Regions from separate parts of the Homo sapiens genome. Here all the other regions are linked to region 2. Evidence: promoter capture Hi-C in human tissues and cell types (Jung and others, 2019). All regions are on one chromosome and are shown on one strand. Each heading gives the region's core, a stretch centred on a gene start or on the middle of the fragment in contact. The rest is flanking DNA. Distances are from core to core; before and after follow the strand shown.

Evidence for each region. The method cuts DNA at HindIII sites, captures the fragments that hold promoters and counts their contacts. A contact is called where the count stands out against the background at its distance.
Region 1: a contact is called between a fragment that was not itself captured here and the fragment with the promoter of FLRT3 in region 2, in 3 of the 25 tissues and cell types used here (lymphoblastoid cells, mesenchymal stem cells and mesendoderm cells).
Region 3: a fragment that was not itself captured here is called in contact with the fragment with the promoter of FLRT3 in region 2 in 2 of the 25 tissues and cell types used here (dorsolateral prefrontal cortex and mesenchymal stem cells).
Region 4: a fragment that was not itself captured here is called in contact with the fragment with the promoter of FLRT3 in region 2 in 1 of the 25 tissues and cell types used here (dorsolateral prefrontal cortex).
Region 5: a contact is called between a fragment that was not itself captured here and the fragment with the promoter of FLRT3 in region 2, in 1 of the 25 tissues and cell types used here (dorsolateral prefrontal cortex).
Region 6: a fragment that was not itself captured here is called in contact with the fragment with the promoter of FLRT3 in region 2 in 1 of the 25 tissues and cell types used here (bladder).
Region 7: a contact is called between a fragment that was not itself captured here and the fragment with the promoter of FLRT3 in region 2, in 1 of the 25 tissues and cell types used here (lymphoblastoid cells).

The regions. Positions count from the first base shown.
Region 1 is chr20:15,040,771-15,044,883 of GRCh38, forward strand. The region is part of intron 5 of MACROD2 (mono-ADP ribosylhydrolase 2); the gene reads left to right. Among named protein-coding and RNA genes, the nearest start is that of MACROD2-AS1, 110 kb to the left of the region's middle. The HindIII fragment of the contact is 3,002 bases long and covers 712-3,713 here.
Region 2 is chr20:14,334,643-14,338,940 of GRCh38, forward strand. It overlaps FLRT3 (fibronectin leucine rich transmembrane protein 3), which reads right to left and starts at 2,970. Exons shown (of 3, transcript NM_198391.3): 1 at 2,762-2,970. All of the region lies in intron 3 of MACROD2 (mono-ADP ribosylhydrolase 2), which reads left to right. The HindIII fragment of the contact is 3,050 bases long and covers 2,042-4,298 here.
Region 3 is chr20:15,096,124-15,099,937 of GRCh38, forward strand. All of the region lies in intron 5 of MACROD2 (mono-ADP ribosylhydrolase 2), which reads left to right. Among named protein-coding and RNA genes, the nearest start is that of MACROD2-AS1, 170 kb to the left of the region's middle. The HindIII fragment of the contact is 7,566 bases long and covers 1-3,814 here.
Region 4 is chr20:15,327,766-15,331,753 of GRCh38, forward strand. The region is part of intron 6 of MACROD2 (mono-ADP ribosylhydrolase 2); the gene reads left to right. Among named protein-coding and RNA genes, the nearest start is that of MACROD2-AS1, 400 kb to the left of the region's middle. The HindIII fragment of the contact is 4,395 bases long and covers 1-3,927 here.
Region 5 is chr20:15,172,309-15,176,195 of GRCh38, forward strand. The region is part of intron 5 of MACROD2 (mono-ADP ribosylhydrolase 2); the gene reads left to right. Among named protein-coding and RNA genes, the nearest start is that of MACROD2-AS1, 240 kb to the left of the region's middle. The HindIII fragment of the contact is 6,985 bases long and covers 1-3,887 here.
Region 6 is chr20:15,008,426-15,012,199 of GRCh38, forward strand. The region is part of intron 5 of MACROD2 (mono-ADP ribosylhydrolase 2); the gene reads left to right. Among named protein-coding and RNA genes, the nearest start is that of MACROD2-AS1, 81 kb to the left of the region's middle. The HindIII fragment of the contact is 4,174 bases long and covers 1-3,570 here.
Region 7 is chr20:15,301,153-15,304,931 of GRCh38, forward strand. The region is part of intron 6 of MACROD2 (mono-ADP ribosylhydrolase 2); the gene reads left to right. Among named protein-coding and RNA genes, the nearest start is that of MACROD2-AS1, 370 kb to the left of the region's middle. The HindIII fragment of the contact is 4,210 bases long and covers 289-3,779 here.

The sequences.
Region 1 (4,113 bases), core at 963-3,462, 710 kb after region 2:
TGGGGCTGAATTGTTCATTGTGGCAATTTGTAATATTTGTAATATATTTAAGTAACTCTAGAGTCTTGGCTTTTAACATTCTCATTCAATTATGAGGGTCAGGTCTTGATCTGAACTATGTGTTTATGGCCTTTTCTCAACTCCTTGTATAGAGATAGTTTTCCAGAAGTATTAATGATTGATTGAAGCAGATAAAATCTTTTATGTTTTCATTCTTTTGGAACTCACTTTTTGGTGGAAATACTTGCAATTCAACTAATTTACTGGTATGACTTGTTATATGGATTCTTGACATGATGATTGGTTTTTATAAATTTGAGCTGTATTTACTCACTTCCATGAATTGTGCAGTTATGAAAATTTGAATCTGCTAGTTTCTGATCTCCATTTGTGGAAGAAAAAGCCAATAAATGGGAAAGTTATTTTAATTCTATAATGCTACATCTAGAAAGGGCGTGACAAATTTTTGTTTGTAATACAGTTCCCAGTCATTGGAAGGGGACATCTCTTGGTCTGAGTAATATTCTTCATAATATTAACACCTGCTCAATATTGAGCAAAACTTCAATTGCCCACTTCTGGCCATATATCCAACTTTAGAAAGTCATGTACTTCTAGATTTTATAGAAGAATACTACTTCTAGATTTTGATTTTTTTAAATTAATTTCTCTCTCTCTCTCTCTTACTTTTTTGAGACAGGGTCTCACTCTGTCACCCAGGATGAAGTACAGTGGCATGATCATGGCTTACTGAAGCCTCAAGTTATCCTCCCACCTCAGTCTCCTGAGTAGCTGAGACCACAGGCATGTACCAACACACCCATCACACCCATCTAAATTTTTAAACATTTTTTGTAGTGATGGGATCTCCCTGTGTTGCCCAGGCTGGTCTCAAGCTCCTGGGCTCAAGTGATCCTCCTGCCTCGGCCTCCCAAAGTGCTGGGATTACAGGTGTGAGCCACCACACCCAAACTGAATTTTTTAATTTATATTTTTCAGATTTGTTACTGTACCCTTCTTGCCATTGAGTACTTAATTTCTCCATCATTGTTTCTTGGAGTTTTAATATCGAAATGCTTCATTATATTGTTCAATAATGCAGAATGTTTGAATTTAACATAGAGATTTTTAGGCCCATAGGCTGAAATAAGTCATCAAAAGATGGAAAAACATATGGTGATGAGGCATGTCATACATGCCAAGCAGGATTGGAGGAAGCTGGAGAACTTGAAGCCATTCAGGGACAAGAAGATTAGCGAGAGGATTTCAAAGAAGTTTGGAGCCCCAAGTCATAAGAAATAAACACATGATTCCTTATCTCAGACTTTACTAGTGAAAGAAAAAATAAAAAACAAGCTCTCTTTCCTAGGGATATAAATTATCCTATGACAAATAGAAAGTGAAATTCTGTAGGTTATTTTCATAACAGACCTTCCAGAGAATTTGCTGATGACTGGAAAAGGGGAAAATGCAGGAAAAAAAAGGTATAAATCCTAAGAGTTTCTAAAGTAGCCAAACAAGGCAGGAAAATGTCTAATCTTATTGTGCAAAAGGGAGGTGGAATCTGTGTGGAAGAAACAGTAATATAAAAATAATGGTACATGTTCTCATCTGTGTAATGCTCAATCATTTCCAGTATGCCCTCACCTGGCCACCTGTAGGAGTATAGCATCCTACAGCAGAATGGGACGTGTGTTTGGCTGAGGCCTGACTCTCGCCCCTTATAGTTTATGACAAGAGTATTGGGGCCAAGCAGGGAAGAAACATGGAAGAAACATCTCATTCTAGGGCCCACAGTGAATTATGGCCACTGCCGGGACAGAGCCAGAATCATCTCAGGATAGGTATCTTTTACCCACAGATTTCTGCCTCAGGATTGTGGATGAACTTGAAGGTCCCTGTCTTAGCACCTGAAATTCCATCAGCAGAAGCTCAGCGTGCCATAGTTTGCATAGAACAGAAGCAGGAAATCTTAATGATGAACTCTACTTACATCCCTTTAATGGGATCATGGAACTGGTAGGCAAGAAGCCTAGATTGTATCTTGCAAATTTAGAGCCAAATCTTACTGAAAGGAATGAGGGAATATAGATGAGTAGTGACTACTTTATTTTTCTACAACACTGTTTCCTTTTTGAGTCCTGATTCTGCTGACATGGCACGGAACTTTAAGCTCAATGGTTTAGGTGTTTCTTTCCCTTCCTGGGGTTGTATCAACATTCCTGGAAGTTTGTGTGGAACTAGGCCTGGGTGAAAGGGACCCAGCTGTTCCTTGAACCTAAGTCTGCTTTGCTGTGTCCTTCATTCCTATCTATGTGGCCTCTCAGGTCTAGCAAACCTCCTGCTGCTTTGGTGGCTTGCTTAGGGCATAGTAAGCCACTAGGACTCCATGTTTCTATGACCAGGCAGTGGACTGAATTTGTTCCACAGACGCATTTTATTTAGCCCACAAAGTTTTAAGAATCTGGAAATTTTATTTGAATAATGTAGTTTTCAGATTTCTCTTGAAAAATGGGAAATACTGTAACTCAGTGCCTGCATTCTTGCATAGGAGCAGCCAGCTGGCTGGGGCTGTGCCTTTGCATAGGGCATTGCTGTGCCTTTGCATGGGGCATTGGCTCTCCAGGCCCACACAGGCCCCTCCAGTGTCCATTGGATTCCACCTAGCTTCCTTCACCCACTTGAGTTTTTTGCATGATGCCTCCACGCTGCACACCCACATTCTCTCTCTGGAGTTTGTCCCTCTCTGAGTGGCTTCTTTTGAAAGATTGTCTTGGGCCCCTGTACTCCTGGGCCTTCAGATCTTCCTTTACTTATCGCCTCTTCCCTTTTCTCTTTCCCCCAGTCAAAAAGAAGCTTTTGCAGTCTGGGCATGGTGGAGAGGAGCTCTTTTCATTCACTGTGCTTCTCTCTAACACTTTGTCTGTACCCCTGATTATGGCCTCCACTTCAGATGCCAGTCACACATCCAGGCTTCCCGTATTTCTGACCAACCAGCTGATCAGAGGTTCCCACGACACTCTCCTCGGGTTTGATATTTTATTAGAATGGATCACAGAACTCAGGAAGACACTTTACTTAATATGACCAATTTATTACAAAGGACACAATTCAAGAATGGCCAGACAGAAGAGATGCATGGGGCAGAAAGAGGCATGAAGCTTCCAAACCTTCTCTGGGAGCGCCACACTCCTTGTACCTGCATGTGCTCAGCACCCCTGAAACTCTCTGCACTCCATTGTGTAGGGTTTTTATGGAGGTGTCATTAAATAGGCATGATTGATTAAGTCATTGGCCTTTGGTGATTGAATTCAATCTACAGCCTATCTCCCCTCCATGGAGGTTGGAAGGTGGGGCTGAAAGGTGCCAACCCTCTCATCACATGGTCGGATCCTCTGGCAACCAGACCTCATCCTGAAGCTATTTAGGGGCCCATCAAGAGTAATCCTATTAGCATAATCTCAGGTGTGGTTAAAGAGCCTTATTATGAATAACCAAAGAGGTTCTTCTTACTCCTATCACTCAGGAGCTTACAAGAGTTTTAGGGAGCTCTGTGCCAGGAACTGGGGACTGAATATATATTTGTTATATCACACTATCAGTTTTGAAATTCAAAATGGCACAATCAAGATTATTCCTGTTTTCTCCCTTAACACACTCCTTCTCTGAGTCAATGAGTACATCTGTGCGGAGTGTCTCCCATTTGCCCTCCAGACCCACTCTTCCCATCTTTCCCATTCTCTCTGCCTGGAGAGCTGATCTGTATGGACTGTCTCAATGGACTTCTCTGCCTTCTGGCTTCTTTTTGGGTTTGGTCAATGGGCAGCTCTCCCAGGCAGTCTAAGGTAAAGAGGAGAGTAAAGGTGAGGTGTTTGCTTTTTGTGATTGTCTACATGTGCTGGGAACTACACTTTCTTTTCAAGCCTTTTGGCTTGAAAATGTTAACAGTGCCTGCTTGCTAACTTCAGGGAATGTCACTAGCTCTGGGGGTTGCTACAGCCTTCCCACATCTTTGTAAATAGTCTCTATTAAACACTCAAATTACTCTGTTTGAAAGTGCCATTTATTTCCTCTTGGGACTCTCACAGATAAAACGTTATGTGCAGTTGTTTA
Region 2 (4,298 bases), core at 1,720-4,219:
CTCTGGGGCAAAAGGTGGGGGGTGGGAGGGAAGGGGGAAGGAGGAAAGACGGAGGGGAGAAATTATGGCCTTTGAAAAATTACTGAATCTTATTTCCATTGTTGACTTTATTTATGGTAGTCTTCATTTGATTTAAACAGTTATTTCTAATGCTTTTTTTTTTTAAATAAATGGGTTTGAATAAAAGAATATATAAGGGGATCTATTCAGAATTTTTAAGTTAGCTCTGGATTTTGCCATTAATCAATCACATTCTTTGTTATATAGCCCACCCACCTTAAAAAGAGGCATAGAAGTTAAGAAATGACTGAAATGGCAACTATAAACCAATACTTTTTCATTGACCAGATTTAATATTGGTATGAACATTGGCATATCAAAAATGAAAAGCAAGAAAGAAGAAACATTAATATATTATTAAGACAAGGCCAATTCCCTGCACTGATTTTTGTAGGGCTTAAAACTGTTCAAAATAATCCAGAAAAAGGAGGAAGCCTTAGGGTGTGTGGCCAAGAAAAGCACAGAAAAATCTCTCTGCAGTGCACTTGCATGTTTAAAGCTGATTATTGTATTTTTCATCTAGAGAGACTGAGTGTTCATTAGGGTCTTGTGTCCCTAGGCAGGAGATGCTGAGCATAATTGGAGTTTCTATTTGATTGGGCAATATAGTCTAGAGAAGAAACTGGGGTAAAGATAATTAATAGCTTGCTAACAAAGTCTGACAGCCACAAGATTTCAACCAAATTTATTTCACACTGCTTCATTTAGCTCTGAAAAAGTTTTGATAGAATTGTAGGCTCCTTAATTAACACTTGAAAGCAAAAGAAACATACCTTCTATTTTGCTGCCACATTTAGTTATGACAGATTTTCTTACTGTTTTTCTTCTTTTTGTAAAAACTTTATTTGCTATCCAATTATATATCTCACAAACGTTATGTTTGGGAAGTGTTTAATTGTGCATTTTGAACCCAGTCATAATTGATTTTAAAGGGTGGGGTGCAGCGAAATGAAAAACCCAATTAGTAACTGGTAGACAGTTTTACAGAACCGCAATATTAATGAATTCATTATGTTTATTCATTCACTAATATTTTGCTGATCCTTGGACTTGATGTGTTTTGGTTGTGCTCTTCAAAAAATCAAATTTTAGTTTTCTTAGTAAATCTATGCGTTTTTGTAACTCTGTTTTTATTTCAGGGTAATAAATAGATGTGCGTTTGTCTGTGTGTATATATATGTGTCCAAACTAAGGGGCATATCTCTGATTTAATTTTCCCATGGTAAAACCTGGCATATTATCATTAATATTTGTAGTAGTTGGTAATGTTGATATTATTGATTGTGGCACTTTTAAAGGATTAATTTTTCTTTACTCATTTCGGAAGAGATGAATATTAGTCATCTGTCACTTTGGGTCAGGTATAAGTGATTCTCCCTGAATATAAGCAAATTTATTCTTTATGTTTAGGCTGGTCAGGATATTTTTATGCAGTCAGAGATAAATGAAAGGCATTGCTACAGCTGAAGGACTTTTCTAGTGGCTTTATTTATGTTGTTTCTGGATAATAAAATAACATAGATGAGCATTTTAGACAGATTTATTAATAGACAGATTTATTAAGAATGTTTAAAATAGCCTTATTATTAAAACCATTAGAGATTTTGGACTAAAAATTGAAAAAAAAATCAATTTTTTTTCTTTTAAATTCTAAATAAAATAATAAAAACAAACCCCCCAGATGTTGAGAAGACATGGATGGGCCTGTTGCACTCTTTACCTATATGCAACCATTTTGTTTCAGACCTAATTCAGTGAACAAAATTTTTTGAGAAGATACATTTAACTACTTTTTCAAGCTTTGTAGTATAAATGCATTTCTTCCAATATAAGATTTTCCTATTATAAGTTGCAAAGAATGGATCCTCTGCAAAACCCACTTGATAAGGGCTCTACTCATTTATTTTTCTTTCCTGCTACCCCAAACTCACTGCATACATCAGGCATAGCTTCCAGGGTGAGCTTTGTTAGTTTTTCTGAGTAGACTTAGCCATTTACTATGCTAGTCACATACTTCACTTGCCTAAGCAATGGATTTTGGTGTTCTATTGAAGAGGGAATATGGTTTGGAAGAGTGTCTCCCCCTCCTCTGAGTTCAATTTACTAGTTGAGATTTGCAAGCCTGAAATGCTTGAAGCAGCTCAGGCACGATAGCAGTGCAAGCTTTAAAATCTAGGTGTAGCTGTTAATCCTTTACAGAGGCACATAAGTCTCCAGGAGTAGCTCGGCTAGCTGTGAGCAAGATGTATGCTTTTCATGTACTGCGTACTCATGGGCTGAGGGATTATTGATTTTCTTTCACAGTTGTAAAAACAGCAATTGGTGATCATCCCACACGTACAGTACACACCAAGTTGCTTTCCTATCTGTGAAGAATCTCCTTGTATTCTTTAATATTTAACATTGAACTTTCCAACTTGCTGTTTTCCATAAGGCTCTTTTCACATAGCAATTACTCAAGACAGAAAATAGCCACTTACTATCTTTTATAAATGAAAGAAGGTTCTAAGAAACTTCTTACATTCAGCCATGATAGTGAAATTTTTCATTGCTGGCTTGCACGCACATATATTGCTTGTTGTGGTGACAGAGCAAACGTTCCTATTTGGATTTCTCATAGTATCAAGTCGTTTCTTTCTAGAGAGTAAAACCAAGCAAACTTTCTGGGACAATCATAAGAAAAAACATGGAAAACACTTACCAGGAAGACGAGAAAAAGCAATCCTATATACACTGCCGCTATAGCTGTAATTCCATTGACAGTGAATTGGAGTAATAGCCCTCCCCCGTCTCCCAAGCTCTGCGTCCAGTCCACACAAAGCCCACGGCAGCTGCAGGCTGAGCTTGTCCTGCTTCAGATCACTCCTACACTGAGGAGTGAGCGAGGGAGAGCATTCCAGTTTACTGCACACAGCCCACCTCCAAGTCTGAAGTTTAAAGCTTCACCTCGCAGTGGCTGAAGAAGGGGGTGATGTCATAGATGGGCAGGACTTAGCCAAGATCTTGTTCAGTGAGGTAACTGGATAATCAGACAGATGAGCTTTGCAAACGCTAGAGGGGGCGAGAGCAGCCAAAATGAAGCATCAGCCTGCCAAAGCTAGGATGCCATTTGGTTTGTAGGCAGCCCTTTGGAATCTCAACATTTTCTAAAGTTTACTACAAGGCAGTGGTAGCATACTTATGTATTTTTTTTAAAAAGCATGTTAGAAAGATATTTTTAAGATCACAATAGAAAAAGACAGGCTTTGTCTTATTTTTAAACCATCTGTATTGAAAAGAAGTTAACCAAAATCAAATTAGTTTTATTATTCACTAGCTAAAATAATGTTATAATTGTGGAAGATGTATGCCAGTAATCCCAACTGTGAATGTTTATTCAACATATGAATAAACAGCAGATTCAAATATATACATCAGGGCTGGGTGTGGTGGCTCACGCCTCTAATTCCGGCACTTTGGGAGGCCGAGGTGGGAGGATCACCTGAGGTCAGGAGTTCGAGACCAGCCTGACCAACATGTAGAAAAAATTAGCTGGGCGCCCGTAATCCCAGCTGTTTGGGAGGCTGAGGCAGGAGAATCACTTGAACCCGGGAGGCAGAGGTTGCAGTGAGCCAAGATTGCACCATTGCACTCCAGCCTGGGCAACAAGAACGAAACTCCATCTCCAATATATGTATATATATACACGTGTCACTGATTCATTTAGTTATGGGAAGGGCAATAGGAATGCCAAAAGATTTTTTTAAATGGTATTAAATGGTCTGTTCTTTTGGAGGCGAAGAAGTTACTGTTCTCTATGTTTTAGAAAATGAAAGTATGTTTTATGTACTTCTGCTACGTGTTTATATTATTTAAAATGGATTATTTATATTTAACGATCCCCCAATAAAATGTTTTTAAAAAATTTAATAGAATATTTTCCTTTCTAAATGTTTTTGCTGATCTGAGCATGGGTTTAGATATAAACATCTTAAGAAAAAAATCTTTCAGGGTGGTTTGCCTGGATTGAAATTATTTTAGTTTAATTTAGGTACATGAATAAACACTGGACAATTGTAAGACGTGGAGATTATAAATTTCTATGCCTAATTAACAGAATTATACTTGTATTTTTAATTATGATTTTTGTAGACTGGTTTCTGCTATTTGGTCAACAATTGCTTTGTGCCCGTAAGTTTTCCATCAAATAAGTGTATTTCACTTGTTCATGTTGGTGGTAAGAACTTAGCTTTTATATT
Region 3 (3,814 bases), core at 315-2,814, 760 kb after region 2:
TGAGAAATGAAAAGACACTAGGCCACGAATAATGGAGCTTGCCAGTAGCAGCAGCTAGTAGATCCCTTTCTCCACGGGGCCAAAGAGTTTGATTTGATTTCCAGCTCTCAACTCCTACTCAAGGTGCAATCATCAGTCCCCTGCAGGGTACTCTAGGATTCTGGAGACATTAAGAAGCACAGAACGTGGCTGCATCCCTTTTTCCGAATGGGCTTTGGTGCAAGCAGTTCGTAAGTGGCTAGTAAGAATTTATTGTTCATGTATGTTTTTTCTCTTGGGAGTCTGTAATTATTTTAAAATATTAGCCATAAATCCCATGCTAATATATATATAAATATATATAAATACGTATTTATATATATAAATATATATAATATATGTTTTTTGTTTGTTCCTTTTTTTGAGACAGAGTCTTGCTCACTCTGTCGCCCAGGCTGGAGTACAGTGGCGTGATCTTGGCTCAGTGCAGCCTCCGCCTGCCAGGTTCAAGCAATTCTCCTGTCTCAGCCTTCTGAGTAGCTGAGACTATAGATGTGCACCACTGTGCCCAGCTAATTTTTATATTTTTAGTAGAAACAAGCTTTCACCATGTTGACCAGGCTGGTCTGGAGCTCCTGACGTCAAGTAATCCGCCTGCCTCGGCCTCCCAAAGTGCTGGGATTATAGGCGTGAGCCACTATGCTAATTTTTTTTTTTTTTTTTTTTTGAGTTGGAGTCTCACTCTGTTGCCCAGGCTAGAGTGCAGTGGCGTGATCTTGGCTCACTGAAACCTCCATCTCCTGGGTTCAAGCAATTATCTTACCTCAGCCTCCCAAGTAGAGGGAATTACAGGTGCTCGCCACCACGCCCAGTTAATTTTTGCATTTTTAGTAAAGACAGGGTTTCACCACATTGGCCAGGCTCGTCTCGAACTCCTGACCTCAGGTGATCTGCCCGCCTCGGCCTCCCAAAGTGCTTGGATTACAGGCATGAACCACTGTGCCCGGTGCTAATTTTTAAAAGTATTAATTTGCTTTTGCGAGACTCAATTGTATGCCAAAAATTACCTCAATATTTGACTTGGAGACTGTAGACCAAACTTGCATCATTATGGAAAAACAATATGCAAAATTTGGCCTTGGCATTGCCCAAAGTGTGGTATTTTGCATTGTACTATTTGTTTCTGTATGTCATGGAGTATGTATAGTAATAGGAAATGATGAGTATCTTTGCACAAAATGTAATGCTTTTACTAACATCTGTCAGCTATTTTGTGAGAATATTGCCAAAATATAACATTTATCTTGGTGTATAGTTCAATTTTGCTTTTGTGAGTGTTTCTTCTATTTTATTGCCACTAATATAGCATAACAGATGTCTTTCAGATGTGAAAAATCAATTATTTTTCAATATACCTCAGTAGTTATTAGGGCAGATTAATGTAAAGTACCGTAAGAGTAATGTCCAAATAAAATGTCATAAGTGAACAATACAATTCAATGGAGAAATAGGATTGAGTTGATCTTGGTACCTTTGTGGAAAACAGGGAGAAAAAAATGAACAAGTACAACAAAAATATGCAAGGCCATGCTTTGTTGAAAGATCAAGTAGATGCTTTAGTGATAGTATTTTCAGTGGAATGGTCAGCTGCCATGGAAAGTTAGGGCAAGGCCAAAACTGTTTATGCTTCATTTCTATCGACAAACACGTAGCTGGTTTCTAATGAAGATCAATAAAAGGTAATCTTGGGAATGGGTATTTCAGTATCCAGAAGTCTTTGCAGGAGAATATGAATTATGAAATTTATGAAAGCCTGAGTGTTACCTTTTGGATGCTGGTGTTTGGCAAGTTCATAACAATCTTTATGTTACTTATCACAAATGTTATTTGTTTTCTAAAATTTTGAATTTCAAGGCCTCAACACACTTGAGAGAGAGCTGCCAAATAAACTTAAACACTGTTCTACAGCAGAACCAGTATGCCCCTGGCACCTAGGTTTAGAGGGGCCTGGATCTGGTTTCATGGCACGAGATGCATGCAGTCACACAGAGCCCCATGCTTAGAAGGGACCAATATTAAATGCTTGATTTGATGCTCTGCTCCTACCATTCTGAAATTATTAATTTTTGAACAAAGGGTCTCACATTTTCATTTCATAGCAGGTCTCACAGATTATGCAGTGAGTCCTGAGGGAAGCCATGAAAGGATAGGGCTCTGTGATGATTCCAACCTTTCTCACCTGAATTTGGGTGGCGGCTCTGTAGCTGCTCTCCTCATAACAGTGTTCCTTTATTTCTGTATCCCTTACTCTGCCTACATTTTCATTCTGATATGGAGGACAGACCCTCTGGGATGCTAAGTTCTCTGAAAGGCCTGAAGTGTCCTCCATGCTTGACTTCAGGCACACGTAATGCCTTTGTTGGACATTTATGCCATGACTCACCTTCTTGCATAGTTATTCACTCCTCCAGCTCTAACACTATGCGAGGCATCATGCTTAGTGCCGTGAATAGAGTGGTGAATAAGATTTAGTCCTTGCTATCCTAAGATTATACTTTAGAAGGATAGACAACCAAGCCAATGGTCAAATAAAAGAAGTTATGATGGTGGTAGAACAGGGCTCACAGGAACATGAAGGAGGAGCACCTAAGGTGGTGATATCTAAATAGAGATCTAAGGTCTAACTGCAGGTAGATGTTTCCCCTTTGGGGGGAAATCAGAGAGTGTTCTAGAGAGGGAACAGCATGAGCCAAAGCTCAGAAGTGAAAAGCTGCCATCTTCAGGATAATTTTCTCCGTAGAAAATTGCACTACTAGTTACATTCAGAGTAGGTACTAGCCAGAGATTCATTTTAGAGACTTACAAGTTTGCCAGCAGTAAGCCTATGAATTAGTTAATGGTTTTGGCTGAGAGGCCACCACAGAATATCCTGCCTGTACTTTAACCAGATTTTTAATCACAAAGTTCATGTAATACATGTCTGAACTGGAACATGGACATCCATGGACACATTGAAAATTTCAGTTTAGTGCTTAGAAGCCCCAAACATTGTTGACTGGAGGAAAAAATGTTATATTAGTTAACAAAGGTATATACTGCTATGGAATGAATATTCGTGTGTCCTCAGCATTCATATATTGAAGCCCTAACCACTAAAGTGGTGGTATTTCAAGTTGGAGCCTTTGGGAGGTAATAGGTTTAGCTGAGGTTGTGAGGATGGGGCCCCATGATGGGATTAGTGCCCTTAGAAGAAGTGCCCTTATAAGAAGAGTAAAACAAGAAAAAAATCTCTCTCTCCACACACCTGCAACAAGGAGAGGCCATGTGAGTTCACAGTGAGAAGCTGACTGTCTATAAGTCAGGAAGACAGTCCTTGCCAAGAACCAAATCTGACAGCAATTTGATCTTGGATCCCTCAGCCTCCAGGACTGTGAGAAATAAATGTCTGTTGGTTGAGCTACCCAGTTTATGGTGTTTGGTTATAGCAGCCTGAGCCGACTGAGACAATAATCGGTACTGAGAAGTAGGCTGATGCTGTAAACAAACACCTAAAAATATGGAAGTGACTTTGGAAGGGGTGATGGACACAGGCGGGAAAAGTTTTGAGATCCATTCTAGAAAAAGCTGAGCTTGCCTTGAATGTTAAAGCCTACTGTGGTGAGAAATTAGAAAGAAGATAGGAGAGGTACAGAGAAAACTTCCTTCTTTGCAGAATACATAAATAATCACTAACAGAATGTTGATAGAAATATGGATGGTAAAGGCAATTCTGGTGAGGTCTCAGATGGAAATGAGAAACATGTTGTTGGAAACTGGAGGAGGGATGGTAGGATTG
Region 4 (3,988 bases), core at 480-2,979, 990 kb after region 2:
GTGTGTCCTGAACCCCATCACTATCATGTGATGGATGATTGGGTTATATATTCTATCCAGCCCTTACTCTCAACCTGAGATAGCTAAAGTTCATTAAAATAGATTTTTGCTTCTACTATGTATCAGGGACTGGTCTAGGTACTTGACACATATCAGTTAATGAAACAGAATTATCACTATCCTTGTGGAGTTTACAGAAAATAAGCAGTAAACTTAACAAATAACTAAATTATATAGTATGTTAAAATTGATAAGTAGAATATATATTTTTATAAAATGAAGATGAGAAGGATCAGAAGGGTCAAATAATTGGGGCCAAGGTCCAAGGTGGGGATGTCACTGCACAGTATTTAATGGGGTGGTTGGTTAGGACAGGCCTCATTAGGAAGGTAATAGTTAGATAAATTTTTGAGAGCAGTTAGGGAATTTGACAAGCAGATACCTGTGGCAAGAGCATTCCAGGAAGTCAGAACAGTAATAACAAAGACTCAGGAAGGAGGCCAGTCTGGCTGGACACTGTGGCCAGAGGGAGAGAGGAGGGGATGAGTGCCGAGGTGCAATACCACATCTGATCATGTAAGTCCATGCAATGACCTTGACTTTTACTCTGAGTGAAACAAAGCAGTTTTAGCATTTTCAGCAGAGGAGAAAAACACTCTGATTTATGTTTTCAAATGAATCCTTCTGGCAGTTAAATGAGAATAGACATAGAGAGATTTTTGACATCATTGCTACTTGTCTGGAGTTCTCATTAAGACACAGACCTAGAATTGTCCCCATAAATATTTAAATCAGAGTCACCAAACATGACCTGGTGTCAAACCACAACCTGGACAGAAATTAATTGCATTGCACAGCTAAACCTGGGGTCTCCCTGCTGGCCATATCAGTGGACTTGCCCTGATCATTTTCTTAATCTTACATTAACACACCACATTATATGCAATTGAATTCCTTAGATGCCACTTATTATTTTATGGCAGTTTTACTGAATGTATCGAAACCCTTAAAGATGTTCTTTTTCTTTGACATAACAATTACACTCTTAGAAATTTCCTTAAAGAAAATTATCTAAAATTCAGAAAAGAATGCCAAAAGATATTTACCAAAGTATAATAGTATATAATAGTGTGCGTATATATGTATATATAAAATAGTGATAAATTAGAAATGATCTAAATATACAGCGATGAAGAAATGGTTAAAATACTATGGTGTATTTATAAGGTAAAACACTATACACCATTGAAAACAATGTTAATTATTGGAAAATTCTTATGAAATAATGCAAATAAAAGTAGGAAACAAAACATACAGAAAAAATCTAAAAGGAAATGCAGCAGATGTTAGCAGAGTCTATTCGATTGTGTAAAATATTCTTCTTTATGTTCCTCTGTATTTACCCTTCTTCCATCCACCATTTTCAAATTATTTTATGAAGTTTTCTCCAGAAGATACCATAATGAAAAAGCTTAGAGACAATCCCAAGGTCAAGTTCAGAGTGTATGATAGAGGCCCTTTGGACTTGTTCAGGGTGAGAGTGGTGTATCTGTAGGTGATTTAGGGTGACGTTTGGAATCTGGAGATCTCAGTCTACATGAATACATTGCTCATCTGGCACTTGGGTAGGTTATACTTTCCCAGGTAGTTCAGCTTTAAAGAAATGATCATATCCTTTAAAAACAATACCAGTCAGGTGCAGTGGCTCATGTCTGTAATCCCAGCACTTAGGAAGGCAGAGGTGAGAGGACTGTTTGAACCCAGGAGCTCAGGACCAGCCTGGGCAACATAGCAAGACCCCATTCTTCACACAGAAAAAATAAAGTACATAAAAATAAAAGTAATATCAAAAAATGAAAATACAATATTTTAAAACAAAATCTTGAAGTGAATTCACAAATTTTTCAGATGTGTGTTTAAATACACATCTTTCTCCTTGAGAGTCTAGCTTCTATGCTAGTGGTTCTCAAAGGGGGCTTAAACTTGTTAGTAATGCAGATAATTTTAGGATTCTATCCCCGACCTACTGAAACAGAAACGCTGATGGCAATCTATTGGTGGGGCTCAGGCGTGCTACCCCAAAATGCTGCACCTTTGGCATTTGAGAAAACAGCAGACACAGAGGAGGGTCACTCTTACTTTTTCCTCTCCCTTGTAAAATCATAAGACCCTTATTTGAGAGGTGCCTTCGCTATACCCAGAAGAAACATCCTTATCTCTGAAGACACCGGGACATAGAAGAATCTGAGCAAACAGGCCTTGCTAAGTTTCCCCGAGTTTATCACCTCCTTTGTCCAGTCATACTTCTCCGGGACTGTCCACTCTTCAAACCTAAGCATAAAAGTACACAAGCTAATCTGTTTCTTTGGGTCTTCATTTTCTCATGAAGTCTCCTATGTCATGTAAAACTTATATTAAATAAATCTGCATTTATTTAATATCTTCTTTGTATGGAGCCTCCACCATGAACCGAGCAATGGGCCAGGAAAAGACATCTTTTCCTCCCCTACAACGTGTTTTAACAAGCCCTCCATGTGATTGTCAGGCAGGGCTCTAAATTTGGCAAGCACTGCTTGGTGTTGAGTATTCAGAAGTGACAGACTTTGGTAGACTCCAGGCTCAGCAGGCAGCCCTGCCTTCAGAGCATCCGTCCATGAAAACGGATGGAAAATGCAGAAGGGCCTCTCCCTATCAGAAGGAGAACTGAGCCCCAATCAAGGTGTAGATTAGTGGTTGGGCATGTAGAGGAGGGCTGATGGAAGATTATAAGCAGACCATTTCCAGAGCAACAAAAAATGTAGGACTGCTTCCTATTTCAAGTTCTATTTCTAGTAACCCAAACTGATGTTAGATGATCACAGCAAGAAAAAAAAATGTGCCAAAGCTAATTCAGGAAACTGCCACCTGTTTGGGGTGGGGTAGTCAATATCACAGGTAGAATGGAAGACTTCCTTTGCACTTCTGACTAATGGATTAAAGTGACAAAATTCAAACTGGGCTGTTAAGTCATTCTCTATAATATTGTGGAATCGCTAGGTTTTATAAGCTCAGAAGGCATCTCAAGTTTAGAATCCAAGAGTAAAATTCTGTTCTCAGCAAGCTTCTTACTGCCCTGAAGTAATTTCTCAGATGGGCCCACGTGTCTTCTGCCCCTGGCTATCTCTTACTTGTGGCTTGCATAAAAGCCTCTACGTGCACTGCTGTCGTTATTTTTTTCTTTGAAAACGGAGGCAAAAATACTTCAGCTTTGATGCCTTATGAAAAGAGAAAATCGTGACATCTTCTTAATATGAAAAACTAGACAAGGTTGTTAATATTTAATTGTCTAAGCCAGATGCAGTAACACATGCGAATGTGTTCATAAGTTTGGAACAGGGGATGCATTTGATTTACTCTTCTACAACTTTCCAAGTGTATTTTCATTATTTTACAGAAGCTCATATAAATAACTGATAAAATCGACTTGTTAAAAAATTAATTGGATTTGTAATATAAAGAATTCTTTTTACCCATAGTAATATTTGTTCGTTATAGATTTTATCTTTAATTTTTAAACTTCTGTTATTTTGAACCTGGTGAGGTCTACTTGGTTGAACTATTAATGAACCACATGCCAACTAAAGTTGATGTGATTCTTTCATAAATCAGTATATGCATTTATAATGCACATCAATTTTTTTTCTAGAAGATACTATGTGTGAAAATGTATTAATTTAAAAGAATTAGTTAACTTCAAAGAGATGCCTTGGAAATTTTATCTTAAAAATTAAAAAAGAAAAGAAAATAAATAACTGAGCTTCAGACAATTTATGCTCAGTCCTCAGAACATAAGCTCTAAACCATATAAAACTTTATTTGGTCAGTTGCTCAAAATAGTATCAAATGGGACCATCTTCCCAACCAGACTTTCTTCTCTTCTCTTGCAAAACTTCTCTTCTCATGTCATTTTCAAGAACTTGCTTTATGAATACCTTTTCTTGTACTTTCT
Region 5 (3,887 bases), core at 894-3,393, 840 kb after region 2:
GAGACCGGACAAAACAAGTTGGGGAAGGAATATTGAGATCTACCAAGAGAAATTCCACTTGCCTTTATAAAATTGGTAAATATTTCTTTCCTTCTCTTTCCTTTTTTATTTTAGAGAGAGGGTCTCAACATCCAGTTGTGCAGTCATAGCTCATTGCAGCCTTGAACTCCTGGGCTCGAGCTATCCTCCTGCCTCAGCCTCCTGAGTGGCTGGGACTATTGGCGCCTGCCACAATATTTGGCTACTGTTTTGTTTTTTTTTCTTTTGTTTTGTTTTAATTTTGTAGAGATGGGATCTCACTATATTTCCCTGGCTGGTCTTGAAGTCCTAGGCTCAAGCCATCCTCTAGACTTGGCCTTCCAAAGTTCTTACATTAGAGGCGTGAGCCCCTCACTTGGCAAAACTTGTAAATCTTTATGGAGTGCCTCTCTTGAAAAAGATCTGAACATTGACTAGTCAAGTGCAGATTAATAATTATCAGCAATTTATTAGCAACCTGCCAGTAGAGCCATACTAAAATGAAAATACAATTAATTGGGGAAGCATTACTGTGTATGTGGCTTGCTGAAAATTTACTATTTTACTAATCTGTAAGAGAAAATGCTTGAAAGCTTTCATGCATGTTATGAATAAGTTTGCCCCCATATTTCAAGTGACATAAAAACCATTCAAAATGAACAGAAACTTAAAAGAATATTAATTAAAAAATATAACGTGAACATATATAAACTGTGTGTGTGCCTGTGTGCGTGTGTGTTTGTGTGGGTCTGTGTGTTAAACTTTTTTTATCTTTTTCAGGGACTCAAATATTTTGCAAATTTTAAATAATAAATCTATGAAAATTAATTTAACCCTAGACTCAAAGAAATTATCCATTACTATTCAACTTTATCTAATATATAATTAATTTTGCACATTGTTTCTAAATAGTTGCAGGTTTGGATTATGATTTCCTGAAAATGCTTCCTTTGATATTTGCTTGGATGAGAAAGTGAGAACTCACTCACTGTATGTTTGCTAAACAGACCTATGTAGTTAAAGAGAAGCTGTCCAAAAAGATTCTCTATTTCAGCCCAATGGAGCATATTCATTATCAGATCAAAGTGATAGGATTTTTTTTATCTTCTCCTAATTGGGGGTAGGCAATTTCCTTACTCACTTTGGCAAATCGAAGGAATGTCTTATTGTAGAGAAAGAGGCTGTGATCCCTAAATGTCAATGCAAAAACCTTCATCACATCACTCTTGTCCCATGTAGCACAGAGAATCCATTCCATTAAGGTGAATTCTGGAAGCTGGCTGAATTTCAAGCTGTGTTTTAATTCAATTTTTTTTTGGCAGACAGTTTTAAAGGGAAGTCAAAGGTTATAGCTTGATAATTGGGTATAAATACAGTCATTTCAGTGGGCCTCAGATTCAGTCATGCAGAACCAATTTTTAGCATGGTGATATCACGGTTGCATATTTTTAATTGAAGCACTCATAAGGAGTCCTACTGTAATCTGAGTATTACTACATTTTTACCCCTCATGAACTCAAAGTATAAGTTAATGGTATACAATGAAATGTTGCATTGTTGACTTTATCTTTCTTACCTACATGTCTCCTGAAGCATAGACTTCGAGATAAAATGTTTTGTTCATTGGTTAAAAAAGTGTCTGTATTCTCTAAGCTACTAATCAATAATAGAAGTTTCTTTTATAAGTCTGAGTGCAGCATAATTTATCACTGAAAACTTACTTCATTGCTAAAGCCCAAACATATACACCCAAGACTTTTAAATCATGATTTTCCTAATGCTTATTGTGCATTTAAATGGTAATTTTAGACTATGTAGATTATTATATAAATGACAAATTTTTATTATTTTTACACTCAAGTGCAATGTCTCGTCTTAATATAAAATCTTTAAATGTATGGTTTCTTCATATCTGTTCTGCTTTCTTCTATTTGTAACAAAATGTTACTTGTGGCCTTTATTATTTAGGAGAAGAATTTTAAATTGATTAAGATAATAATCCAGCACATATTTTTTAAGTAAAATATATGAGCATAAAAGATTTGCATGGCCACATTTTCTTAATCCAGTCTATCATTGTTGGACATTTGGGTTGGTTCCAAGTCTTTGCTATTGTGAATAGTGCCGCAATAAACATATGTGTGCATGTGTCTTTATAGCAGCATGATTTATAGTCCTTTGGGTATATGCCCAGTAATGGGATGGCTGGGTCAAATGGTATTTCTAGTTCTAGATCCCTGAGGAATCGCCACACTGACTTCCACAATGGTTGAACTAGTTTACAGTCCCACCAACAGTGTAAAAGTGTTCCTATTTCTCCACATCCTCTCCAGCACCTGTTGTGTCCTGACTTTTTAATGATCACCATTCTAACTGGTGTGAGATGGTATCTCACTGTGGTTTTGATTTGCATTTCTCTGATAGCCAGTGATGGTGAGCATTTTTTCATGTGTTTTTTTGGCTGCATAAATGTCTTCTTTTGAGAAGTGTCTGTTCATGTGCTTTGCCCACTTTTTGATGGGGTTGTTTGTTTTTTTCTTGTAAATTTGTTTGAGTTCATTGTAGATTCTGGATATTAGCCCTTTGTCAGATGAGTAGGTTGTGAAAATTTTCTCCCATTTTGTAGGTTGCCTGTTTACTCTGATGGTAGTTTCTTTTGCTGTGCAGAAGCTCTTTAGTTTAATTAGATCCCATTTGTCAATTTTGGCTTTTGTTGCCATTGCTGGATTAAGAAAATGTGGCACATATACACCATGGAATACTATGCAGCCATAAAAAATGATGAGTTCATGTCCTTTGTAGGAACACGGATGAAATTGGAAATCATCATTCTCAGTAAACTATCGCAAGAACAAAAAACCAAACACCGCATATTGTCACTCATAGGTGGGAATTGAACAATGAGAACACATGGATACAAGAAGGGGAACATCACACTCTGGGGACTGTTGTGGGGTGGGGGGAGGGGGGAGGGATAGCTTTAGGAGATATACCTAATGCTAAATGATGAGTTAATGGGTGCAGCACACCAGCATGGCACATGTATACATATGTAACTAACCTGCACATTGTGCACATGCACCCTAAAACTTAAAGTATAATAATAATAAAAATAAAATTTAAAAAAAGATATGCATGGCAAACTTTTACAATGAATATAGAAACCATGAATAGTCATTTTACCACCCAGGTTTCTTGTATAATTACACTACTTAAAATGTTTAGTTGCTGAATGCTAATGGTAGACTTAGTCATATTGACTTAGCTATTGGAAAATTCATGAAATATAAGATGACTTTGTGCCTGCCATTTGGGGGATGAAATAGAAATTTCAGAGAGAGAATTCAAGCAAAGAGACATTACAATAATTTATGATAGGAGTTTTCATGTTTAGTTTTTTATACTGATGGCAGTGGCGGCCCATCTGGAGGAGCCACTGCAAAGACACTGGCTGCAATGGCTAGGTGCAACCATGGCTGTGTGCTCCATAGAGCCAGTGGGGGCCAGGAACAGGCGGGAGCCCCAGCCCCTACCAAGTTGATGGGGCAGGAGCCCAGTGTTCCTGGGTGCAACAGCAGCTGCCCGACTGTGGCTCCAGACCTGGGAATCTCTGCACTCTCGGAGGCCTGGGAAGCCCTCCTGCCCCAACAGGCTTAGAAGTGCCTGCTTCTGCCCCCTGGCCTCTCCCTGCTCCCAGTACCCTCTCTGCTGCAGAGCAAAGTTGTGGCTGAGGCTGGGTGCTGTTGCAATGTGGCCAGGTATGTGTATTCTCAGAGGTGCTGACACGCCAGCCCCCTGCTGCCTTGGCCCCCTCTAGACTTTGGGAACCCAGGAGCATGGGAGGGAAGCAAAGGAGGGGCTGAGGGCAG
Region 6 (3,774 bases), core at 234-2,733, 670 kb after region 2:
AGGCATTTCAGCAGGTATGTTTTGAGCACAGACTGTGTGCAACACTTTGTGTGGGATGTTCATCGGGGAGAATAAGGAAGAGGAAAGCAAAGATGACCTGATCATGGTGCAGGTTCTTGAGAAACTTAAAGTCTACTGAGAAAGATGGATGCACACGCAGATAACTGTATTACTAAGCAGAAATAATTTAAGTATGAAAGGCTCTTTGGCGCTGAGAAGGACTGTTCCCCCCTTACATAAGAGGGAGAATCAACACAAACCACAGACATGTAGTTTACGTAGTAAAATGCATGTACTTAAAGTGGATGGTATGGCATGACTGGAGCCACTTTATCTGTTCATTTATTGCTTAAAATAAACTATGTTTATTATCACCTTATTAAAGAAGTACCTATTACTTTTAAAAAGGTACTTCTTTTAAAAGACGTACCTATTACTTTGCATCATGGTTGGATGGATTTTTTTCCTTTTCTCTTTCCTTTTCTGTGGGTTTAGTGGAGGAGGAGTTGGGAAGCTTGAGTAAAACCCTTATTCTGCCAGAAAATGTAGCAGTTATATGTAATTGGCTGTCTTTACTCAGAGAAACAGGAGAACCTGTGAGGTTCAGCATGGTGGACTTTGATTAAACAATGATTATATATGAGGCAGTTGGATCCTGCTCCAAATGCTGGTTGCACAACTTCAGACAAAAGGAGGTACTACAGGAAAAAGCCAGCAAATGTACCCCATTATTGCATCCTGGTCTATTTATGATGGGTGTCCACCCAGGTCTCTGGGGACAGCCTAGGTCACACTGATCTTGGGTCTCCAAACACTCCACCAAGAGTAGTTTTAAAATATGCCCCTTAAGTTGATTCCTCCCCAAAGAAGCCTAAAACATATAGGATTCTTGGCAAACTCTGTCATCATGACATTATATAAGATTTATAAAGCCCTCCTAAAGATTGCTGTGGGATTATGGAAGCTTCTTGGGTGCCTTCTGGCCCCTCTAATCAACTTTTCACACTGTTGAGGAGATAGGGGAAGCAAACTCATCATCACTCCAGGTGTGTATCTTCTCACACTTGATCTTCTGAACTCAGAGGACAGAGATCTGATTATAAGAATTATTCTTTATTACCCAAAATTTCTATAAAGAGCATGTTTTGTTTATCTGAGCAAAACTATATCATGAGACTAATTATCCCTCTTGGGTTTTTGTTGTAATTAAGCTACACTTTTCCCCCTGATTTTTAGAAATTTAGCTTTTGAAATAGAAGATAAACTAAAGAAAACTCCTTCCCAGCTAATTTTTTTCCATAATTTTTTTCAGTCTTTGAAACACAGAGGTCTCTCCCCACCTCCCTATTTTTTTTTTTTTTTTTTTACCACTGAATACATTGTTTCGGCTTAGTTATGGATTGTTTTCTGAAAATTTATCTCCTGCCTTCCAACTAAATTTCAACATAGAAGCAAGTGCTTTTATTCTCTCTTCTTTCCCAGATATATAAAGTGTCTAGTTCTTGTGTTATTGGCAAGATTATGTTTCCTTTGTTTTCTTAACCTCAGCTTCATAAAAAAAGCTCACTTCATGCTTCTGCTCCAAGATTGGAGAGCTCAAACATTTATAACTCCAAAAACAACATGTTGCCCTACAGAAATTTACCACTTGAATTTGAGCAGTGTTGAGGGGTATGCCATGATGATAGGCAGCAATGGCAAAAGCAAAGGTAAAAAGAAGAAAAAGAGTTTTTTGAAATGTGAGCTTTGAATTATTTGTCGGACTAAATAAATAGCATTACCCTATCTTCCCTACCTTATGCAGAACCTCATTTTAGAAAATCAGCACCAGCCAAAAGTGTAATGCACCATGCCGCCACTTAGGTAGTTACACATTATTTGAAGATATTCCTTAAAATGCCTGCTAAGCCACTTTTATCTCTTCTGCTATAGCAGAGGCACAGAGCAGTAGAAAGCACCTAAATAGCTTCATGTTATTCTTTACTTGAAGAAGGAATTATAGTCCCAAGATCACTATAGCCGTGGTAGGCACTCCTAAAACAAATGTACAGTTCAGGTCATTTAATTTTATGGTTATAGATAAATGCAGCGAGATGAGAACAAATAACTTAAACAGTGATTAGCCTTAAGTCTACTTGTGTCAACACAAGATTTGAGGACAGAATGAATCTTCTATTTATTTTCTGGGCATTTCTTAAAACTATGTTTGTTCCTATTAATCCATGAAATATCCATTAGTTCACATACCCACCGTTTTTTATATTTGTAGCTCAGCAACACAAAGACAACAAAAATATAATAATAACAATAAACCAGCAAGTAAATTAACTTACTGTTGTTTGTTTTGTTTTGTTTTGAAATGAGCGTCAGTGAATCTAGTGCTATATCTGCCAATGTCTTGCTTGTATCAGGAGCTCTTAGAAAAAGTTCACACCTAAGAGCACTATGAGTTGGAAATGCCTATTTTAGATGTGTTTCTCCCATGTTTTTCCTCCAAAATCACTCAGTGAACCTGGTTTTACTTGACTTATTTTGGAGTGACATCCTCAAAGCATGCTGAGGACTGCAACTACCAAATATAAAGCTGGAAAGGAGTGATGCTGCCTGATGCTAGTGACAAGTTGTTCCTTGTGTGGCAGACAGATTCAAATGGATTAATGTTCAAGCCAAGCCCTTTCACCTCTACTTTCTCATGAGGAGTGACAGAGAAGAATGTGTGGCTTGTCCATAGACCTCCTGACTCTTCTGCCACCTTTGAGTTGACACCACTTTCTGATCTGAGACAGTTTGTCACTTAGGGTCAGTAGTTTTGCCATTCAGTGAAGTTGTACAATGGATTTCCTCTGTGGTGGGAGGAAGAGCAGGAAAGAGAGAAGGAAAGAGAGAGGAATCGGGGTGGGGTAAGAAATACAGAGAGAGAGAGAGTGAGAGAAGGAGGATCTCTTTTACTAAATGTTATCTTTGCCTTTTTAATTGGTATTTTTAGATAATAATAACTTTCCTATATTAATAGCTAAACCCTGTCCTTATTATCCATTCAGTGTGTATGATATGCTCATACCTGTGAGGCTCCGTGATGGGAAATGACATAGTACTCTTTGTTCCCCCAAGTTCTTTTTGCCACTTTTCCTGGCCATGGTCTCATCAAAGCATTTGGAAAATGTGCAGCTGTGGTCTTCCAGGAGGGGACAGATATTGTACTCATCGAGTCGGTACCTGGTGTCTCCACTCTCTCATGACTTAGCCCTTCCCCTCTCTCTCCATCCAGCCATGTGGTTTGTGTTGAATTAACTGTCCTTGCTGCAGGATGAGGCCCTAATGTGTTTAAGCTAATCACTATTTCCTATCCCTTGGGTCATGGTGTTTAGCTCAGGGTTGGTCATGTGTTTTTAGCAAGGGAGCCTCAGGGCTTTTTGTGGCCTTTCCAACTCTGGCCTCTACCTCTTGTTATGAATGAAGATGCATTGAGCGCCGTGTGCTCTTGGCACTCATGTTATGACCAGAGGACAACAGCATCAGGCAGATACAGCAGAAGTCAGAGAGGGGAGATGCAAACAAATAGGGTGTTTTGGTTGTTCCCTGTAGCCCATGCTACTGCTGGATGTTTCAGTTATATGTGATAGTAAATTCCTTTTATTAAAGGCTGTTTGATGGGTTTTTCTTATTTGTCACCCAAATGAACCCCAAAGGGTCACAAAAACCTGACTGAATTTCAAAATACTTTGTCATTAATTCTTAATTGGTGGTGGGAACTAAACAAAGAAAACACCAATT
Region 7 (3,779 bases), core at 1,144-3,643, 970 kb after region 2:
TCCTTCCACTGGGAGGGTGGGCATGTAGTTTCCTGGCAGCTGTTGCTATTCTAGGGGGCACAGTGGAAATGTAGGAAGAGGATATAAGTCTTTTACCTCATCCCTTTTTGTTGATTGGGACCAGAGAGCAGTTACCTGGCAGGCCTGCCCAGGAGGACTGGTCAGAAGGCCTCAGAGGAGGAATGAGACAGAAGAGTGAGCCAGCACGGGGCCTGGTTGATGGGTTCAGAGAATCAGAGAAAGCAGCTCAAAGAGCAGCTGGGCTCATGGTCACCAACTTGCCTTGTTCCCAAATGATGTTAGCTTCCTAGTGTCTTCTTTTACTCAGAGAGTTGAGAGTTGAGATTTCCTTTGGTTTCTTGAATTTCAGACAGGTCACTGAAGGTATTTAAGAATCTTACTTATCAATGGGTGGAAGTTAGTAAGATGGTAGGTGGCCTTTTTTTTTTTTTTTTTTTTTTTGTAGAGACAAGAGTATTGAAGTGCCCAGGCTGTTCTTGAACATCTGGCCTCAAGCAATCCTCCTGCCTCAGCCTCTGAAAGTGTTGGGATCACAGGCATGAGCCAATGCACCTGCCTAAAATTATATCTCTTAAAGAAGTGATTTGTCTTTCAGAGATACTACCTAGAGAGGCGCCAGGAGAGAAAGGGCAATAGGCAGTTATTTAGCTTTCCCCTTCCATCAGTTCTGGAACTTAGTCATTCTCTCGCGTCTCATTTTTCCTCTAACTTTCAGATGTGCAAAGGATGTCTTAAACTCAACAAGACAGGAGAACAGAAAATCCCAAACAACCCACCAGTATAAAACACACAAATGTAACAAACACAAGAAAACTCAATACTAGCTCCTCTTTCTCCAGCCAAACTGACAATCTGCTTGTTGGCAGATCTCTGAAACGTGGTCGGTGCTCACTGGCACTACTTCCTCACCACAGCCTTGCTCTTTGGCTCCCAGCATCTGGCCCCTCCCAAAGGGCTCAATTGAAACCTGTCTCCCAAAGGGAACATGTGGCGTCCTCATTGCCAAATCCAAAGCCGTTTCTTAGCTCCCGCTCCATTTAATGTCTTTCTGAAGGTCATTCCTTTGACATCGTTGACTATATTTCATTTCTTTCTCTTCTGGTGATCAAATGCATGAGCTTAGGAATCAGACAGATCTGAACATAAATCCTAACTACTGCTAGTAATGTGACCCTGGGCAGATAAAATACACACACACACACACACACATACACACATACAGATGTGTATCTTTTATTTTGCTCTATAGAAACGGGATCATATTTTATACTCTTGTCTGCTGTTTGCCTTACTCACTTAACAGTTCATTGTGGAACTCCTTCCAAAAGAGTTGGTGTAGAACTCACTCATTCTTAAATATTATGGATGTATCACAAATTATTCAACCATTCCTCTGTTGATGGATATTCCATTTGCTTCAGACATTTTCTACTCTGGGTTGGTGATTTCATCTTATGGGATAAATCCCCAGTTGGGGGATGGCTGGATCAAAGGACACATGTATATTTAATTTACATTTAGTGGGTATATTTAATTTTAATAGATGTTGCCAGATGGCCTTCTAAAAAAACTGTACCATTTCACATTCCACCGGCAGTGTATGAGTAGCTCTTCCTCAAAGCATTATAGTCCTGTTTAATTTTTTACAAACCTGGTGCATTTCCTCAACTACTATAGAAATTGAGCATCTTTACAAACGTTTATTAGCCATATTTGGATGTTGTGTTCTGTGAACCTGCTACTTATATCCTTATTCAAGTTACTTAACCTCCCTAAGCTTCAGTCCCTTTACAAAGTTATTATGAAGATTAAATAAAATATTTATGTGAAGGCTTTGCCCAAAGCCTGGCACAAGTGACATGCTTGGTAAATAGTAGCTGCTGTTAATTCTTTTAAATTCCTTTTTCCTTATTTAGTTAATCTTCATCTTCATACCTTTAAACATGTATCTATAAGCATTTTCCAAAATTCTGCAAACTAATTTTTCTCTTTGACATCTTGCATTCTTTCTTTCTGAACATTTCAATTTTACAGTCTCTATTCTGTTAAAAGACCAATTTGAACCTCTAATCTTGACTTGTCTTTTAACAGCAGAATTGACGGTTTCAATACCTTGCTGGACCCCACAGATTTATCTTACCATCTACTCCCTGCCCCAGCAGCAAACTCTGCCTCACAGGAACACAACATTCCCATCTGTGCTCCTGTATTCCTAAAGGCACCCTTTTCTCCAAGACCTATGGGCTTGAGATCATAAAGTCATCATGCCGCCTTGCCCTAGACGTTCATGTCAGTAGAAAAGCTCCATAAATCCCCTTTACAATGGCTCTTATAGCCATCCTCTCTTTCATTGTTTTTACTCTAGTTCACTCCATCAACAACAATCAAAATAGCTAACTAACCAGTTTTTCCTCTGCCAGCGTCTCACTTTTTCAATCTATTTGTTACATTCCAGGGAAAATCTTCTAAAACAATAACAGAATCATGTCACTCACTCAGAACCATTTATCAGTTTCTTCTATTACAGAGTAACATTCTCACTGGCCTTGGAGAACACTGCCCCAATTCCTTTATGCACCGTATTTTTTTCATGCCCCCAGTCTCTTTAGTTTCTACCAACACGCCAGTTCTGATCACTCACAAGTGTTTTTTGCTCTTCTGGCCTAACAGCCTACAATTCCTCTTCCTTCTCCATCTGTTGGAATTTTATTTATTTTCAGAGCCTCTCACTCTGTTAAGATCTTCCACGTTTACTCACCTAGAATGAATCAAGTATTCTAGCAGTTTCCTATAGTATCCCCCAATTTAATTATTCTGTAATATTTATTATTATAGTAGGTCATTTTCACAATTCTTCTTGGCCTTTCCTCACCACAAGCTTCTTGAAGGCCAGAATTTACTTTTTGTTCCTTATAATATTTTCTTTCTTTTCTGTGTTTCCCAATCTATTTCTTATCTAGTAACTTTTAAGTGCTCCTTTATTTATTTATTTTAATTTTGGAATAAATGCATGACTGGGGTTGGAGATTAGGGAAAATTGAATCTGGTGAAAGAAAGGAGCGAGTTGTCTTAGATTCTCAGAGGTAGCAATGGGACCATGGGACTGGTAGCAATGGTGGCCATGGGACTGGTCCATCCCATAGTTGTCTTTTATTTGCTTCCCATACAGTAGTAAGTGAACACATGTTTTATAAGTTGGTCAACATTTACCAATCAGGATGTTTTATATAAGCATCTGGCTTCTCTTGAAATAAGGAACATCAGCAAGACTGGATTGGCATTCCTGGACGGTATATGGATGGATGTGAGGTATGACAAGGTTTCTCTTCAAACAGCCTGATCAACCTTTTGTTCTTTAATTCCCAGTACCCCTCCCCATCTCTTTCTTCTTCTTTCCTTCTTTCTGCCTTTACTACATGCCCAGGCATGCCACAGCACCAGTGGCGTTATCAGCACCAGCTCATATTCCTTTCCTTATTTGGAAAAGGACTGGCTCTCTAGCTCACTGCAGACGACCCCTTCCCGCTCTCCCCTCTCTCCCTTACGTGCCTGCCTTATCTAAAAAAAAAAGTTTAAATATTTAGCCAATCGGGTCTAGCTTAGATTGTGAGGTCTGATCCCAGCCAATGGGGAAAGGACACAGGGGCAGGATTTGCATCAGGAATAAAAACTTCCACTCTCCTTTGGTCTGTGTGCCCTCATGGCAACTGGCCATACGGGAGGCACCCCTCTCCACAGAAGTAAATTTGCTTTGCTGA